2 separate regions of the Homo sapiens genome follow, and region 2 is linked to region 1. Evidence: promoter capture Hi-C in 16 types of primary human blood cells and fetal thymus (Javierre and others, 2016). All regions are on one chromosome and are shown on one strand. The core of a region is centred on a gene start or on the middle of the fragment in contact, and the rest is flanking DNA. Distances in the headings are between cores, read along the strand shown. Region 1 overlaps USP4 (ubiquitin specific peptidase 4). Region 2 holds the start of QARS1 (glutaminyl-tRNA synthetase 1).

What was found. The method cuts DNA at HindIII sites, captures the fragments that hold promoters and counts their contacts. A CHiCAGO score of 5 or more calls a contact.
Region 2: a contact is called between the fragment with the promoter of QARS1 here and a fragment that was not itself captured in region 1, in 2 of 17 cell types (erythroblasts and endothelial precursors). The highest score is 5.3, in erythroblasts.

Annotation. Positions count from the first base shown.
Region 1 is chr3:49,319,463-49,324,242 of GRCh38, forward strand. The region is part of intron 6 of USP4 (ubiquitin specific peptidase 4); the gene reads right to left. Among named protein-coding and RNA genes, the nearest start is that of USP4, 18 kb to the right of the region's middle. The HindIII fragment of the contact is 4,741 bases long and covers 1,089-4,780 here.
Region 2 is chr3:49,103,507-49,107,957 of GRCh38, forward strand. It overlaps QARS1 (glutaminyl-tRNA synthetase 1), which reads right to left and starts at 1,251. Exons shown (of 24, transcript NM_005051.3): 1 at 1,111-1,251; 2 at 818-965; 3 at 357-466; 4 at 125-200. The coding sequence starts at 1,227. RefSeq lists enhancers at 1-473, 1,023-1,212, 1,423-1,582, 1,776-2,425. The HindIII fragment of the contact is 7,394 bases long and covers 1-4,451 here.

The DNA of each region.
Region 1 (4,780 bases), core at 2,209-4,708:
GATGGTCTTGATCTCTTGACCTCGTGATGTGCCTGCCTCTGCCTCCCAAAGTGCTGGGATTACAGGCATAAGCCACTATTTCCATTCCCTCAATTTCAACTTCTCTGTGTCTTTGACACACAATGTATTACTAAACATGTTTGTTTGTTTGTTTGTTTGTTTGTTTTCTGAGATGGAGTCTTGCTCTGTCACGCAGGCTGGAGTGCAATGGTGCCATCTCAGCTCACTACAACCTCCACCTCCTGAGTTCAAGCAATTCTCCTGCCTCAGCCTCCCAAGTAGCTGGGATTACAGGTGCACGCCACCACTCCTGGCTAATTTTCTGTACTTTTAGTAGATAGGGGGGTCTCGCTATGTTCACCAGGCTGGTCTTGAACTCCTGACCTCAAGTGATCCACCCACCTCCGCCTCCCAAAGTGGGATTACAGGCCATGAGCCACTGTGCCCAGCCTTGTTTTGTTTTCTTGTGTTTTGAGACAAGCTCTTGCTCTGTCACCCAGGCTGCAGTGCAGTGCACAATTATAGCTCACTACAGCCTCAAACTCCTGTGCTCAAGGGATCCTCCCACCTCAGCCTCCCAAGAAGCTGGAACTGCAGGCACAAGCTACCATGCCCAGCTAATTTTTAAAAAAAATTTTGTAGAGACAGGAGTCTTGCTATGTTGACCAGGCTGGTCTCAAACTCCTATCCTCAAGCAATCCTCCCACCTCAGCTTTCCAAAATGTTGGGATTACAGGTATAAGCCACCATGCCTGACTCTTTTTTTCCAAGAGACAGGGTCTCCAGCCTGACCAACATGGAGAAACCCTGTCTCTACTAAAAATACAAAATTAGCCGGGCGTGGTGGCGCATGCCTGTAATCCCAGCTACTCGAGAGGCTGAGGCAGGAGAATTGCTTGAACCTGGGAGGCAGAGGTTGCAGTGAGCCAAGATCGCGCCATTACACTCCAACCTGGGCAACAAGAGTGAAACTCCATCTCAAACAAAAAAGAAAAAGAAAAAGAGACAGCATCTCACTCTGTCGTCCAGGCTGGAGTGCAATGATGCAATCGTGGCTCACGGTAACTTCGAACTCCTGGGCTCAAGCAAGCTTCCTCCCTCAGCCTTCTGAGTAGCTAGGACTATAGGCACATACCACTGTATCCCTGGTGTGGTTTGTCTTTTAAAGTCTGATCTGAGAGTTTGTCTTTAGTTTGGTAAATTTAACTCATCTACAGTGATTCTAATGCTGTTATTAGACTTCACTGAATTTAATTCAGCCTCCTTATTTCAGGTTTCTTTTTTTTCCCCCTTTTTCCACATGTTCTAACATGCTTTCTAATTACCATACTTCTTATTTTTTCCCCCCTTCATTTTTGCCTTCCATTAATTTTCCTTTTGCAGGTGTGGCAGTTTGCTAGTCGCCTCCTGCTAGCTATTTTCCCCTCCTTCCTTAGTTTGAGAACCCCAGTTTTTAGCTGGACATGATGCAGTCCTGCTATACAGTACATCCCAGCCTTCCTGAAAGCCAGGTATTGTCATATGATTAGCCAATGAGATACAAAGGAGGTTTGATGTATGATATCTGAGAAATGTCCTAAAAAGGAAGGGGTAGGTCAGCTGGGTTTAATATTGCCATGGAGCTGCTACGTCAGCAATGGATTGACTGCCTACGTCAGAAATTCTTTTCAGAAAGATGTAAGCCTCCATCTTGCTTAATACGCTAATTTGCAGATTTTTCTTACCTGCCAGCAAGCCTTTCCTAACTGACGTAGTATGTTTCAAAGTTATACATTCAATTTTCCGTTTCTGTTAGTTGTTCCATTAACTTATTAGGATCTCTATTTTTATTTTTCCCCATAAATTACATAAACTTACAATTGTTCACCTTTCTCATCCTCAAGAATAGTAGTTCTGGACATTCTCATCTCTCTCTGCTCTATACTAATTCCTCACCTATGTTGGAATTACCCAGAATTTATCTCTGGAATATTATAGATACTAGTTGCTTTCTTAAACCTTGATTATTATTGTACCTTTTTTTTTTTTTTCTCCTGAGACAGAGTCTCACTGTATCGCCCAAGCTGGAGTGCAGTGGCACGATCTAGGCTCACTGCAATCCCCACCACCATTCTCATGCCTCAGCCTCCCCAGTAGCTACGATTACAGGCATGTGCCACTGCACCGGGCTAATTTTCTTCTATTTTTTAAGAGATGGGGTTTCAGCATGTTGGCCAGCCACCGCACCTGGCCTATTATTGATTTTTTTTGGCCGGGCGCCGTGGCTTATGCCTGTAATCCCAGCATTTTGGGAGGCCGAGGCAGGCGGATCACTTGAGGCTAGAAGTTCGAGACCAGCCTGGCCAACATGGTGAAACCCCGTCTCTACTAAAAATACAAAAATTGGCTGTGCATGGGTGGCATGCACCTGTAATCCCAGCTACTCAGGAGGCTGAGGCACAGAATTGCTTGAACCCAGGAGGCAGAGGTTACAGTGAACCGAGATCATGCCACTGGACTCCAGCCTGGGCTACAGATCAAGACTCCGTCTATTAAAAAAACAAAAAAACAAAACCCCTGAGTGTATAAAATCAAGAAATTTGCACCAAGTGATACATCCATGTAACCACTACCCTGACCAAGAAACAGGACACCCCCAGACCCCTAGGTGTCCTTCTCACGATTCAGTCGCAATTCTTCCCAACACTAACCAGTTCTGACCATGAATCCCCAAGGTTAATTTTGCCTGTTATAAAGTTTTAAGTCAACAGAATCATTATGCCCTGCTCTGTGTCTACCTTCTCTCATTCATCATTTTTCATTAGACTCATCACTGTTGTGCAAAGCTGGACAGAATTTCCTTGTGTGCTTACACTTACTGCAGTTTATCCATTTACTTTTGATGGACATTTGGGTTAGCTCCAGTTTGTAACTATGACAAGCAGTGCTAGCACAAACATCCTGAAATATGTATTTAAGAGAACATGGGATATATTTCTATTGGTTATATGCCTAACAACAGGATTGTTGAGTAGCAGAATGTGCATATAATTCTACATTTTTGCCTCTTTTTTTTACTAGTGTTGCCTGACTTGTTTGTATTGACTAGTAGGAATTTCTTTGCAACTCTAGATATACGACCAGCTGTGGTGGCTCATGCCTGTAATCCAGCACTTTGGGAGGCTAAGGCAGGCAGATAACTACAGGCCAGGAGTTCAAGACCAGCCTGGCCAACATGGTAAAACCCTGTCTCTACTAAAAATACAAAAATTAGCTGGGCATGGTGGTGGGAGCTTGTAGTCCCAGCTGCTCGGGAGGCTGAGGCATCAGTCACTTGAACCCGGGAGTGGGGGTGCAGTGAGCTGAGATCGCACCATTGCACTCCAACCTTGGCAAGAGAGTAAGACTCCGTCACAGGGAAAAAAAAAAAAGAAAAAAAAATTCTGGACACAACTTGTCAGACATGGATTACAAATCTCTTCTCTCACTGTATGGCTTATGGCTTGTCTTCACTCACTGGTGAACAGACATTCTTTTTTTTTTGAGATGGAGTTTCGCTCTTGTTCCCCAGGCTAGAGTGCAATGGTGCAATCTCAGTTCCCTGCAACCTCCGCCTCCCGGGTTCAAGCGATTCTCCTGCCTCAGCCTCCCAAGTAGCTGAAATTACAGATATGCACCACCACGCCTGGCTAATTTTGCATTTTTAGTAGAGACAGGGTTTCTCCATGTTGGTCAGGCTGGTCTCAAACTCTCAACCTCAGGTGAGCCGCCCACCTCGGCCTCCCAAAGTGCTGGGATTACAGGCATGAGCCACTGCTCCTGGCCTTTTTAAAAAAAAAAAAAAAAAAAAAAAAAAAGAGATGGGGTCTTGCTGTCGCCCAGGCTGGAGGGCAATGGCAGAATCATAGCTCACTGCAGCCTCAAACTCCTGGACTCAAGCAATGCTCCCACCTCAGCCTGTCAGGTAGCTGGGACTACAGGCACTCACCATTGTGCTTAATCCCATCTGCAAAGTCCCTTTTGCCATGTCACCTGACATAATGACAGATTCTGAAACAGATTCTGGGAATTAGGATATGGATATCTCAGGGTGAAGATGAGCACAGCTATGCCTACCACAGCTATTTTATTTATCTTGTCAACAACTGGCAACCGGGGTTTCTTAAACTGGAGTCCATGACTGGACTTCAGGGGTTCTAACAGTTCTTCTCTTAAGAACTCATAGTTTTCATGGTTCTCAAATGACCTAGGAGCCCACTACTATGTAATGGTCACAGTCCAAGGCCTGACAGAGGGAAAAGGACAGAGCGCAACATTATTCCCATAACTACTGGAACACAGATATAATTTCCAAAACTTATACCATAACGAAAATTAATCACTTCTTTATCTCCCTAAGAACATGCACAGTTCCACATACCACATGAACATCTCTTGAAACAGATGTGTCCTTAGTCCAAGTTTTGTAGCTGAACAATTCACCCAGCAAGCTCCCAGGGCAACAATGAGTAACAGGCCACTGGGCAGAAACAGGTAGAATCAAGCTATCACTTTTTTTTTGTTTTTGTTTTTTTTGGGTCAGAGTCTTGCACTGTCACCTAGGCTGGAGTATAATGGTGCGATCTCAGCTCACTGCAGCCTTCACCTCCTGGATTCAAGCGACTCTTGAGCCTCAGCCTCCCGAGTAGCTGAGATTACAGGTACCTGCCACCATGCCTAGCTAATTTTTGTATTTTTAGTAGAGACAGGGTTTTACCATGTTGACCAGGCTGGGCTCGAACTCCTGGCCTCAGGTGAGCCA
Region 2 (4,451 bases), core at 1-2,500, 220 kb before region 1:
GCCTGAGCCCAGCCAGACCACTTTAAGTCACTCCTGTTCCTTCCCCCACCTCCTTCTCACTCGTGCCCAGAAGAAAAGGCATGACCAGAGAGAACAATATAGCCCCGTTCCAGGCCCTGCTCACCCATCAGCAGCCCCATGTTGAAATGGTAACGTTCCACCAGGAGCTGGGGCCGGTGCCTGTTAATAGCAGCCTCCACCTGCAGAAAGCCAAACCATGTGGTTCAGGAAAGCCACCTTTAGAGATATTCTGGGAACCCACACCCTCACTCTGGGTCTTCCTGAGGAGGGAAACTGAGCCACTCCTTTCCATGGCCAGGACTGGGGAGGCAGACGATGCCTGGGGAAAGACTCACAGCCTCCTCAATCTGCTCTGGGGTCACAATGACACCCACGCCACATTCCCGCTCGAAGTCCACAGTGTCGATGGGGTCCAAGGGGTGACTCCGCACATACTCAAGGGCAGCTGAGAAGAAAGAGCCCGTGAGTTTGTGGCATCTCTGCTCCAAGAAGTGGACAGACAGGGTCCTAATCTCATGAAACTCCAAGGATAGTCTGGCCTCCTGAAAAGTTAAGCCCTGGCACCACCACCCTAGAGAACACAGGGAAGAAAGAAGCACGTGTCGAGAGTGGATCCCCCCTCAGACCCTGACAGTTCCCGTGTCAGTCTCACCATAGGCCACCCCTTCCATGCCTCAGTGCCTGTGCAGAACTAGGTGTCTAGAAAGAAACTGGAGGACTTGGCAAAAAGGGAAGACAGGGGTCTTGGCTGAAGGGAGGCATTGGTGCGAACTGGCAGGACAGGTAGGGGTCTCACCGCTTAGCTGGGGCTCAGTGTGGATCTTCTTACTGGCTATGTAGCTTACAAGGAAGGAGAGACGCCGGGTATCCCTGAGTCGGGAGGCCAAGCCATATAACAGGATCCCGGTAGCTTTGTCAATGGTGGAACCCAGGGTCTGCTGAGCCTGAGGTCAGAGGGGTCAAGAGAGAAGCCCCGCGCTCAGTGAGAGGAAAGGGCGGGACAAACGGGGCAGGTCGGGATCTGGACCCCGCCCCGCGCTGCGTTGCAGCATGGTCTGCAAACCAGGCCGGGGGCAGAGGGGCTCGCACCTGAGTAGCGGCCTCGCGCAGCTGCGCGCTCAGAGCCGAGTTCTTGAGCGTCTCGCGGGCCTTCTGCTCGCTCAGGCCGAGGCTAGTGAAGAGCGACAGGGAGTCTAGAGCCGCCATTGCAGAGACACCGGAAACTAAAAGAAACTTAGGCCCCAGTCTGCAGGTCGGCATTCACTCGCTGACCAATGAGAGTGAAGCCTCCGGGGAGAGCCAATGGGGTCCTTCCTTGGCGGGAGGGGGCGGGGCGCTCCAAGGTCGTCTATCCCCTTTAAACAACACAGGGCGGACAAACCGGCCTTTCCGGGGGCTTTGCTTCCGCCTCCGTGGAACTGGGAACTTGAAGGGGTGTTGGCAGGCGGCAGGGCTTTTGGAGATATTTGCCACGGACCTGGAAGGAAGGTGTTCGTCCCTGAGGCAGGAGGAAGACACAGGCGTGGTTTTGCTCTGACTTTTCTACTTCAGCCCTGGTAACTCCATCTCAATATAGTAATTGTCCTCGGGGGCAAATGCGAGTCCCTGTCACGCTTTTGACGCCACAGCTTTGGAGTTGTCATGGAAACAGTTGAACAAATGAAGCCCAGGAAATCCCTCATCCAGACTCCATCGTAGAGAATGTGTGGAATGACCGATCCAGGGGCCCCATAAGTCCGCCGGTTTTCAGGTGCCCACTTGGACACAGCTGGCCAGGAAAGGGAAGGGACGGGTCTGGGCCAGGAGGGACCTCACATAAGTTCTATGATGATTTGGTTTAAAATCTTGGCCGGGCGCAGTGGCTCAGGCCTTTAATCCCAGCACTTTGGGAGGCCGAGGCGGGCGGATCACTTGAGGCCAGGAGTTCGAGATCAGCCTCGCCAACATGGTGAAACCCTGTCTCTACTAAAAATACAAAAATTAGCCGGGCGTGATGGCGCACGCCTGTAATCCCAGCTACTCAGGAGGCTGAGGCTGGAGAATCGCTTGAACCTGGGAGGCGGAAGTTGCAGTGAGCCGAGATTGTGCCACTGCACTCCAGCCTGGTCAACAGAGTAAGACTGTCTCAAAAAAAAAAAAAGAAAAGAAAAAAAAATCTCATCCCACACTTACCCTCTTGCCAAAGCATTATCAGGAAAACCACAAGCAAATTAGACCTTGAAATCCCTCTGCAGGCCTTTGAGAGGATATTTTATTGAGCTTGTGAGAGGGTGGGACAAATGAGATGGTTATAGCTTCATGATTATAGCTGTTGTGCTTGGGGATCTTTCCACAGTCTCACTGGACTTCCAGGACCTGCTGGCTGAAACAGAACAGAGACTTTGTGTGTGTGTGAGAAAAGGGACTAAGGTAGTAAGGGACTGAGGTAGGGGGTTGCAGAGAATGAGCAGCTGGTGGTGGGATGGTGGAAATCCCCACATTTGAGATTGGAGCTCTTGCAGGAATTGGTGATGCTCATACTTCTGGACCTTCAAGGAATAGGCAGGATCCTGACTAGTCTTTATCTATATTCTGTGTCTTTTGTGCCCACATCCCATTATTAATGACCAACCTCCAAGTCTGGGCCTACATCTGGATACCACCTAATGATCACATGCCAGGTGCAGACCAGGGCCACATGCTGTATCGCTATCCAGGTCCAATGCTGTCCTGGGGCTTCCCACATCTCCATGGCCCCGTGGCCCCAGCCAGATGCCTAGCCCTGCAGTGTACTGCATGAGAAAGGCCAGGTGCAGGAATTAAGCAGGGGATGCAGACCAGTGGTGCTAAGGACAGGTACCAAGAAGCAGAGCCATAGCCACACCAGCCGTGCACCAAATTTGAAGCTGCAAGTACCCAGCCCACCATAAAGGTGCCCATGGTGAGCAAAGCCATGCAGAGTGCCTGCCACTGCCACTATTTCCTCAGTACCTGATGCTGCCAATAGATTCACTGTAGCACCATCACCAAGTCCTACAGGTCTAGTGATGGCTCCCTCAATGAGATCAAGATCTGCACTCCCTTCCCTGGTTACTTCATGGTACACTGTGGACGCCATGGCTACAAGTCATAGAATGAGGCAGTAGCCCCACCAGTGTCACCAAGAATGCCACAAGTGGTAGCATACCAGTCGATATCCAGCTAGTGCCCTAGATGTCTACGACTTGCACAAAGCAGAAATGTTAAATTGTATGGGCCCAGTCTGGAGGTTAGCTTGCCTGCATAAGCCCCTGGCACTGCTTCCAGGAAAAGTCAAGACAAAGATGACCAAGTGGAAAAACCAGGCAGCAGCCAGCAAGGCCCAGTCGTGGAATGGACAGAGGTAGGGTCCAGCAACCTCCTGGGCTCAAACGATCCTCCCATCTCAGCCTCTGAAATATTTGGGACTACAAGTGCATACCATAAGAGCCAGCTAATTTTTATATTTTTGGTAAAGACAGGGTCTCACTATGTTGCCCAGGCTGGTCCTGAACTCCTAGGCTCAAGCTATCCTCCCACCTCGCCCCAAAGTGCTGGGATTACAGGCATAAGCCACCACACTTGGCCAGTTTCAGCAACTTTTTTTTTTTTTTTTTTTTTTGAGACGGAGTCTTGCTCTGTCGCCCAGGCTAGAGTGCAGTGGCGCGATCTCGGCTCCCTGCAACCTCCGCCTCCCAGGTTCAAGCGATTCTCCTGCCTCAGCCTCCCAAGTAGCTGGGATTACAGGTGCCCGCCACTGCACCTAATTTTTGTATTTTTAGTAGAGACGGGGTTTCACCATCTTGGCCAGGCTGGTCTCGAACTCCTGACCTCATGACCCACTCGCCTCGGCCTCTCAAAGTGCGGGGATTACAAGTGTGAGCCACCATGCCTGGCCAAAGAAGGAAGGCTTCAGGAACTCTTAAGGGAAGACTCTTCAGGCTGGCAGGCCCCAGCACCCTCCCTCCAATAGAAGTCAGACAAGATTCACTCTGGTCCTCTCTGCTTGTCCTCTTTTCAGGGCAGCAAGATCTGCCCCACAGCAGTTTTCCTCCTGCTCTGTTACCTGCAGGGATGCAGTTAGTGTTCAAGTTACAGCAAAGAAAAAGCTGAGGACAGGAGAGGAGGAGGAAGATCTCCCAGTACTTCTGTCCCCCAAGTCCTCCCTGACTTGTCAGCCCCAGGCTGCTCTGGTGAATGCACCTTTTACTCCACGCTGTCAGCTCCAGTGCTTCATATACTCCTCTGTCCCTTGGCTATATTGAGATCCTGACGATGCCTACCAAGCTGCCTCTTATGTAGGATCCAGAACCAGTGGGATGAAAGAGCAGCAGGTAGGCTCCAAAAAGCTGATAGCACTGGGGGCTTCATGACCCATAGGACATGAGCTGGGACCCCATCATCTCCCTTCAGACTAGGGCACTTTCAGGGTC